Regions from separate parts of the Homo sapiens genome. Here region 2 is linked to region 1. The links are contacts of gene promoters, found by promoter capture Hi-C in blood cells and fetal thymus (Javierre and others, 2016). All regions are on one chromosome and are shown on one strand. The core of a region is centred on a gene start or on the middle of the fragment in contact, and the rest is flanking DNA. Distances in the headings are between cores, read along the strand shown. Region 1 holds the start of SV2A (synaptic vesicle glycoprotein 2A). Region 2 overlaps VPS45 (vacuolar protein sorting 45 homolog).

What was found. The method cuts DNA at HindIII sites, captures the fragments that hold promoters and counts their contacts. A CHiCAGO score of 5 or more calls a contact.
Region 2: a fragment that was not itself captured here is called in contact with the fragment with the promoter of SV2A in region 1 in 1 of 17 cell types (monocytes); the score reaches 5.2 in monocytes.

The regions. Positions count from the first base shown.
Region 1 is chr1:149,915,142-149,919,948 of GRCh38, reverse strand. SV2A (synaptic vesicle glycoprotein 2A) reads left to right here and starts at 2,105. Exons shown (of 13, transcript NM_014849.5): 1 at 2,105-2,210. RefSeq lists a silencer at 2,192-2,261. The HindIII fragment of the contact is 16,072 bases long and covers 1-4,807 here.
Region 2 is chr1:150,123,912-150,128,478 of GRCh38, reverse strand. The region is part of intron 14 of VPS45 (vacuolar protein sorting 45 homolog); the gene reads right to left. Among named protein-coding and RNA genes, the nearest start is that of PLEKHO1, 24 kb to the left of the region's middle. The HindIII fragment of the contact is 1,872 bases long and covers 621-2,492 here.

The DNA.
Region 1 (4,807 bases), core at 856-3,355:
TAACACAGTGAAACCCCGTCTCTCCTAAAAATACAAAAAATTAGCCGGGTGTGGTGGCGGGCACCTGTAGTCCCAGCTACTCGGGAGGCTGAGGCAGGAGAATGGCATGAACCCGGGAGGCGGAGCTTGCAGTGAGCCGAGATTGTGCCACTGCACTCCAGCCTGGGCGACGGAGCAAGACTCTGTCTCAAAAAAAAAAAAAAAAGTTAACTGGGTGTGGTGGCTCGTGCCTGTAGTCCCAGCTACTGGGAAGGCTGAGGCAGGAGAATCACTTGAACACCGGAGGTGGAGGTTACAGTGAGCTGAGATTGCGCCACTGCACTCCAGCCTGGGCGACAGAGTGAGACTCTGTCTCAAAAAAAAAAAAAAAAAGAAAAAGAATGTGTGTTAACCTGAAGACGGGTCAGCAATGAAAGTCTAGTAAAGGGAGAGTCCCTGAGGCCAGTCCAAGCACCATCCTGGAAAGCCGTCACATTCAGAGTAGTCCAGGAGTGCTGGCAAGGCTGCCAATAGCAAAGAGGTGGGGGTAGAAGATTGTTGCCAAGAAGAGTTTTCTGGACCCATTGGCATGGCTGCTTATTGCAGATGGCCAGATGCCATTAAAGATACAAATCCTCCAGTAATGTCATTGTGCATTTATACATTGACATTATGATTCTGATTTGGCTTCAGGGAGAGAATGTACTAGACATGTAGATATGAGTTTTCAGTCTGAGTGACAGTTAAATATTTATGATAAATTAATATTTATGTATTATGGCTTTATATTTCAGAAGATTGTGAACTTTGTTGGCATGAATGATTATTTCCAAGATCCAGCTTTGGAGTCTGCAAAGCCCAGGCCCGTGTCCCTGTCAGAGGTAAATTCAACCTGGCAAATGTTACCTGTGTGGTCTCTTCGGACATAGCCTGTCAGCCTTCTCCATGTATATATATCAGCATTCTGAAGCCTCCACATTTAGTAAGGCAGAATCACACGCTATTAGATCTGAGAGGGACCTGATGCAGTATCTAGTCCAAGCCCCCCTTTTCCAGATGAGAAACCTGAAGTTCACAGATGTGGAGAACTTGACCAAGAGTTGACAGCTTGTTAGCAGTGAGAACCCAGGTCCAAGCCCAGGTCAGTGCTGTCTGGAAGGTCCTGACCTTATCTGGCATAGACACATTCAGGATGTATTTCCCCAAATCACCATATTCCCTCTCACTCCTTCGGCAGGGATGGTCATCAAGTGTCACCAAGTGGCATGTCTTGGATCTCTGAGTCCAGGTTATTGATGCAAGAGCAAAGGAAAGATGAAGGGAAAAGCTGAAACAATTTACTTCTTCCTGCCCGGGAAGTACAAGTGTGTGGAGGGGAGGGGAGGGAGGTAGAGGAGAGTAAGAGAAAATGGAGAAGGGTATTGAGAGGATCCTTTTTGAGTCATTGGAGCAAATTAATGGAAGGGGAACTGTCCGGTTGGTCAGGTCTGTAAAAATCCCTCAACTTCCCCAGTACTTCTGCTACCACCAACTGAATGGACAGGATGAGGAGGTGTCCACTGTAAATAAGTAACCTGGACTGTTTTGTGAGGAAAGAGATGGAAGGAATCCAGGGGTCTCTGACTCTGGCAGTTCAGGATAGAAACCACACCTTGTTATCTCTGCTTTCTCTAAAATGTCCAGGTAAACTTGGAATAGGAGCACTCTGGATTTGGGAGACTGTTGTGAAAAAGGAGTTTGAGAGCAGTGGAGAAGGCAAGGGAGGTGTTTTGAAGGCAGCAAAAGCCCCTGAAATTATTGGGTCCTGCCATACTGAGACTGGGGTGCTAAGGAAGGGGCTGCCACATTCCCCATCTCCCTGTCTTCCCACTTGTCTTCCTAACATCACTGTTTTTTTCTTTAGTTCCTTCTATCTTTTACTAGGAAGGGCCTGGGAAGGGCTGGGTGCCATTTCCAGCTGTTCTTGTGACAACCTCCGGCCCTTTCATCATTTCTCCCCGTGCCCTGACTCCCTCCCCATCCTCTTTTCTCCTCTCCCCACCAATGGTCTCTCCCGATGCTCAGTGGCGCGGGGTAGGGGGGGGCGGAGGCGGGGCTGGAGTGGTGGAAGGGGGGTGGCAGGTCTGCATTGCCGCTTCCCTGGTGCCGGGAGCAGTCGCCGCTGCCGCCTCCGCCCGCGGCCGGGACCCCCGTCCTCGCCCGGGACTCCTTACCCGGGGAACCTAGACCAGGTGAGACCCCTTTCTCAGTCGCTCACCTCCTCCCCGCCCCTGGCAGAAGCATCTTTGCCTTGCCTTGCAGCCATTTTATCCTCCGATGCTTTGCTTATGGGGAGGGTGACGATCCCCTCTCTAGGGGTGAGGGGGGTTGGTGGGTTGGTGGTGGTTTGGGGATGGACATTTATTTCAGTTGTGCTCTTCAGGACACACACACACACACGCATATGTATAATATTGGTGAATGGGGAGGAGGGGTGTTTTTCTCTACCTTAACCAAGTCCCCACTATCCCCTTCGGAGATTAACGTGGTGGTGGGGTTGTGAGGTGGGATGAGGTTCCCTCAAACTCCTATCCCCTCCTCACCTTGACGTCCCCCCACCCCCAGGATGAATGATAAATGACCTTGGCTGGGGCTGGAGAATGGATGCTGCCTCAGTGTGCACGCCTGGACTTGGGTGGGTGGGGGGCAGGGGAAGAAGGGCAGGTGAAGGATGGAGGGAAGGGGAGTGAAGAATGGAAATACTGGGGAGACAGAGATGTAGAGCCGCCAGGTGTTGGGGGCATGGATGGCGGGGGCTGGCGGCAGTTGCTCCGGGGTGGGGGGAAGGGATGTTGAGTGAAGGTGGACACTTGTCTAGCAGCAGGACCAAGGGTGGAGGAGGTGCTCAGAGCAGGGATTTAGTCAGTTCTGGGGGCTTTTCCCTTATTCCGGAGCTGAGGCAAGATGGGGTGTGGGGGGGTCGCTGCAAATGCTGATAGGGGCGGTCTCTATGTCTGTGCATGCGGAGGTCTCTCCCTGCGTCCCCCTCTCTGCCTCTCCGTATTCCTCAGTGTGCATTCTCAGCTGACACCCTCATTTTTATCCCTCAGAACTGTGGGTGCTCCTATCTTCCTAACCTTGGTAGGATGTGGGGAGGGGAGGCGCAGTCTTGATGGTCCTGGGTGGGGGCTGAAGTTCGATGACCGGGCTGTCATGGGGAAGGGGTGCTCCCGCACCTCCCACATTCTACCCCCGCCCCCGCGGACGTTTTGATAAGTGATTGCTTTTTAATGACCTTGTCACCTGAGCTAGGAAGGCCTGGGGATCTGGGTGGACCCCAAAGTCAGGGGCTTTGACTGGGAGGGTGGGGGGTTCTGGACCCAGGGCTGGATGAGCTGTTCTGAAAGAAAGCATTTGCTCTGGAGTCCCCTGCCTGTCTCCACCCTCTGCAGAAAATCTCCTGGGCACATTTTTTCCTGTCAGGTGAAGTCAGCCAGCCTAGGACCTTGTAACCCTGAACCTTGTCTCCTTTAACCTCCACCTCTCCAAGTCTTGTCTCACTCCCCCAGGCTTAGCCACCCTGTGCTGTTTTGGGGGCTAAAAATAGCACCACTTCCTCACCAGCTCAAAGAATTTGTCTTCTTTCTTTCTCTCCTGACCTCCTGGGCTTGCTGGCCCTGAGGAAGCTGGCTGTTGAGACCTCATATCCTGCTGTGGTTGTGGAAGGCTTCCCTGCCCTACGTGCCCCTCTCAGGGGGAAATAGGGTCAACAAACATAGAGTATGGCTCCTGGTGGGTCCTGCCTCCTTCAGGGCTGGAGGGGAGATCCTGGTTAGGAAAGAGAGGAAAGCTAGCAAATTGCCATGCGCTGAGGGGATTCCGCAGTTCCAGCTCTTTCATGGGGGATGGTTGGGCCCTGAACCATGAAGAAAAGGTGACATAGGGGTCACTGCTTCTGGTCACCGTGGTCCACTGCTTACATCTGTCCTGAGGGGATAAGGCGCTGCTTGCCAGTGCTTCTCTCTGAACCACATAGCATTGCTTACCGTCTTCTACCAGGGCGTGTGTGTGTGTGTGCGTGTGTGTGTGTGTGTGTGTGTTTTAATGAAGGCCCTGGATGGGTGGGAGCACCGGAGGCAGGATATTTTTAGGGGGATGATTTCTGATCAGAATCTAGGCCTGCTTCCTCTGCTCCTATGAAGGAAGGGGGCTATCCCATGCCTTCCTCTGGAGAATGTCTTTTTTGGGGGGACACCCAAACCCCCTTTATTCTACATCCGCCTCCTACGCAATGCGGTGTTTGTGGACTCCTTCTTCCTTGACTCCTGGAGGAGGAGCAGAAAGGATTAAGGGGGATTAGGAAGGGAGGCCCTGGAGGGATGGGATGCAACTGTAGGCCTTAGAACCTCATGTTGGAAATGTATGCATTTGACAGTCATTTCCATTCTCACCCCCATCTGTGGAAAGGGGGCCTATCTATGACATTCTGAAGCAAGGTGGCAGTGGACAGTCATCACCTCTTTCTTAGCTTTCCATCTTTCCTCCACTTTACTTGGGTTCCAGGTCCCCCTTTTCTGGATCTTCCCTTGTTCTTCTGGAGGTAGTTAATGTGGGCCCAGCTACTGGAATTAGTTGAAACATAGATAGGGGTGTCTTGGGACTCTGTTTGCAAGGATGCTGGGCAACAGCATCTAAGTATGACCCCCCTGTTGTCCCTTGCTGCTTCCTGTTTCTTTCCCACTTTCAACATCATAGGAAGGAAGAAAACTAACATAGAGTATCTACTGTGAGATTACATTCTCACATCAACTCCAAGAAACAGTCTCCCAATTTAATTATCCCCAGTTAA
Region 2 (4,567 bases), core at 307-2,806, 210 kb before region 1:
TAGAAATTCAAGATGCCAACTATTTTTTAGGCCCTTAGCTGTATTCACTACAAAAAGTATTAATTTCACTTACTCCATGTCAAAGTTAAATTATTATAACACTTAGGCATCATTTCAGATAGTTATGAAACTAAAAGCTTCCACTAATTAATCAAGTTAATTTTCTTTTTTTTTTTAAGACAAGGGTCCCATTCTGTTACCCAGGCTGGAGTGCAGTGGCGCGAACTTGACTCACTGCAACCTCTGCCCCCTGGGCTCAAGCTATCCTCCCATCTTAGCCTCCCGAGTAGCTGGGACCACAGGCACGCACCATCACGCCCAGCTATTTTTTTGTATTTTTGGTAGAGACAGGGTCTCACCATGTTGCCCAGGCTGGTCTTGAACTCCTGAACTCAAGCAATCTGCCCGCCCCGGCCTCCCAAAGTGTGGGATTACAGGTGTGAGTCACCATGCCTGGCCAAGTTAGTCATTTTTACTCAAAGAGCAACACTGTCTCTTAAATCTCATTTTTAATCATCATTGAATGATAAAATTCTTAAAATAAAAGTAAATGATCCCTCAGTTCTGTATTATTTTTTCCCCAGCTTTGGTTTACAATATTTCTTAGTAGTCTGAAAGCTTCACATATTATCCATTTGATAAAAACATATTTTGCCTATCTTATAGGTGACATTTATAAACAAAGGATTTAAAAATATCATAGCTAGATAAATATTCCAAAATATTATTTCAACTGAGTGCTTAGGTACTCATACTGGAAACAGACTGTGCCCAATTCCAGGTTTACCACTTACTAGCTTTATGACTTTGGACAAGGTACTTAACTTCTCTCTACTTTGATTTCCTCATCTGAAAAAGGAAGTTGATAACAATTATAAAAATATCTACCTTGGCTGGGTGTGGTGGCTCATGCCAGTAATCCCAGCAATTTGGGAGGCCAAGTTGGGAGGTTTGTTTGAGCCCAGGAGTTTGAGACCAGTCTGGACAACATAGCAAGACCCTGTCTCTAGAAAAAAATAAAAAGTTAGCACAAGCTACTTGTGAGGCTGAAGTGGTAGGACTGCTTGAACCCAGATCAATGTCACAGTGAGCTGTGTGTGTGCCACTGCACTCCAGCCTGGGCAACAGAGCGAGACCCTGTTTCAAAAAAAAAAAAATCTGCTTCACTGAGTCATTATGAGAATTAACAAAATTAAATGGATAAAGCAGTGCAAGTCACAAATGTTCTCGTGGCCACATTAAAAAAGTAAAATGAAACAGGTAAAATTAATTTTAGTAGTGTATTTTATTTAACCCATATATCCAAAATATTATCTTTCAGCATGTAATCAACTTAAAAAAGTACTGAGATATTTTACATTTTGTTGTACTGTCTTTAAAATTTGGTTAAGTGTTTTACCAAATTATCATCATACCCGTTGCTTTAGGAATTGTAATAGCCCAGTTTTCCTCAAAGTGTGTGAGTCATAACATCAGTTGACATCAGGTGGTTCTGGGGCATGGCATTAAATAACATTGAATTATGCAGTGAGAAACTATTCCATTTTAAATTATCTTTTTTATCTTTCTGAACATTTGAAGGAGAAAATGTCAGTTTGGTACTACAGTGCTTTGTCTTACCTGTAGCTATGATTACAGGTGCGTACCATGATGCCTGGCTAATTTTAACGTTTTTTGTGGAGATGGAGTCTCACTATGTTGCCCAGGCTGTTCTTGAACCCCTGGCCTCAAATGATCCTCCCAATTGAGCCTCCCAAAGTGCTGGGATTACAGGCATGGGCCACCTCTGCTCAGCTACATATAAATTTTTTTTATTGAGCTATAACTCATAGACAATAAAATTCACTGATATCAAGGATATTCTTTGATGAGTTTGCCAAATATATCCAGTTGTATAACCAACTCCTCAATCAAGATATAGAACATTTCCATCACTTGAGCAAGAGCTTCTTAAAAATCAAAAAACAGGCCGGTGTGGTGGCTCACGCCTGTAATCCCAGCACTTTGGGAGGCCGAGGAGGGCGGATCACGAGGTCAGGAGATTGAGACCATCCTGGCTAACATGGTGAAACCCCATTTCTACTAAAAATACAAAAAAAAATTAGCCAGGCATGGTGGCAGATGCCTGTAGTCCCAGCTACTTGGGAGGCTGAGGCAGGACAATGGCGTGAACCTGGGAGGCGGAGCTTGCAGTGAGCCGAGATGGCACCACTGCACTCCAGCATGGGCGACAGAGTGAGGCTCTGTCTCAAAAAAACAAAACAAAACAAAAACCCAACAACAAAAGCCATGAAATTAATCCCATACCTTAGAATATATAATGCTAAATTGCTTTCTAGGAAAGTTATACTAATTTATCCTTCTACTGGCAATATTTCAGACTGCCTCACTATACGTTTATCTTAAACCTTTGTCCCCACCGAGATGGGGACCAAGTTTTATCAGTACGTAAGATGTTTATTGAAGCATTATTTATATTAAAAATGTAAGCTTGGCCAGGGGCAGTGGCTCATATCTATAATCCCACCACTTTGGGAGTCTGAGACGGGTGGATCACAAGGTCAGGAGTTCAAGACCAGTCTGGCCAAGATGGTGAAAGCCCGTCTCTACTAAAAATACAAAAATTAGCTGGGAGTGGTGGCAGGCGCCTATAATCCCAGCTACTCGGGAGGCTGAGGCAGAGAATTCCTTGAACCTGGGTGGTGGAGGTTACAGTGAGCTGAGATCACATCACTGCACTCTAGCCTGGGCAACAGAGGAGACTCCATCTCAAAAATGATTAAAAAATATAAAAAAAATAAAAAATATATCTCCTAATGCTATCCCTCCCCCCTCCCCCCAGTGTGTGATGTTCCCCTTCCTGTGTCCAAGTGTTCTCATTGTTCAATTCCCACCTATGAGTGAGAACATGTGGTGTTTGGTTTTTTGTCCTTGCGATAGTTTGCTCAGAATGATGGTTTCCAGTTTCATCCATGTCCCTACAAAGGACATGAACTCGTCATTTTTTAAATGATGAGTTAATGGGTGCAGCACACCAACATGGCACATGTATACATATGTAACAAACCTGCACATTGTGCACATGTACCCTAGAACTTAAAGTATAATAAAAATATATATATATTAAAAAATAAATAAAAAAAGTAAAAAAAATAAAAAATACATATCCAATACAGAAAAAAGAAGATTTTGAATGTTCCCAATACAAAGAAATGATAAATGTTTGATGTGCTGTTATGCTAAATATCCTGATTTGATCAGTATACATTGTATACATGTATCAAAATATTACTCTGTACCTAATAAATGTGTAAAATTATTACATGTCAATTAAAAATTTAAAAAAGCAAAAAAATAAATAAATAAAAAATAAAAGTAAACTTGCAGCTGAATATGCTGGTGAAAAAAATGTAAACAACCTAAATGTCCAATGGTAATAGTTAAATAAAGACCCATCCTTAAAAATAAAATTATATAGCCATTAAGATTGTTTTAAAGACTTTTTAGTAACATGGGAAAATGTTCTCAAATGATTAAAGAAAAAAACTCTATAGATCTTATGTTAAAAACAAAACATAAACAAAATTCTAAAACATTTAGGTTAAAAAAATATTAGAAGGGGCTGGGCACAGTGGCTTATGCCTATAATCCCAGCACTTTGGGAGGACAAGGCAGGCGGATTACTTGAGGTCAGGAGTTCAAAACCAGCCTGGCCAACATGGTGAAACCCCATCTCTACTAAAAATACAAAAAAAAAAAAAATTAGCCAGGTGTGATGCTGCAGGCTTGTAGTCCCAGCTACTTGGGAGGCTGAGGCATGAGAATTACTTAAATCCGGGAGGTAGGGGGGTTGGAGTGAGGCGGGATTGTGCCACTGCACTCCAGCCTGGGTGACAGGGCGAGACTCTGTCTCAAAAAAAAAAAAAGAAAAAAGAAAAAAAGCCAACATATTAACAGTGATTAGCTCTGAGCTGTGGTATTATGAATGATTTTTACTTTTATAATTCATTTTTTTTTTCCAAGACGGAGTCTTGGTCTCTCACCCAGGCTGGAGTGCAGTGGCGCGATCTCGGCTTACTGTAACCTCTGCCTCCCAGATTCAAGCAATTCTTCTGCCTTAGCCTCCTGAGTAGCTGGGACTACATGTGCACGCCACCACGTCTGACTGATTTTTGTATTTTTAGTAGCGATGGGGTTTCACTACGTTGGCCAGGCTGGTCTTGAACTCCAGACCTCGTGATCCACCCGCCTCGGCCTCCCAAAGTGCTGGGATTACAGGAGTAAGCCACCGTGTTCAGCCTCATTTCCTTTTAACAATGAGCATGAATTACTTGGTCAAGGGGAATGCCTACTTTCCTTTACCTGTTTGCCAGCACTATCTGTCTTTGCTACTTATGGGGAAAATAATTGAAAATGGGATCATTAATTATTCTTTAGGTTTATAGCTAATGAGGGCTTAGTTGGATCTAGTACTATGACAAAGAATATACTATGTACAGTAATTATTATTGGCTTGAAAGGGAATCTGGCAGCGAGAGAATTGTTGCTCTCATGCCATCTTCTAGCA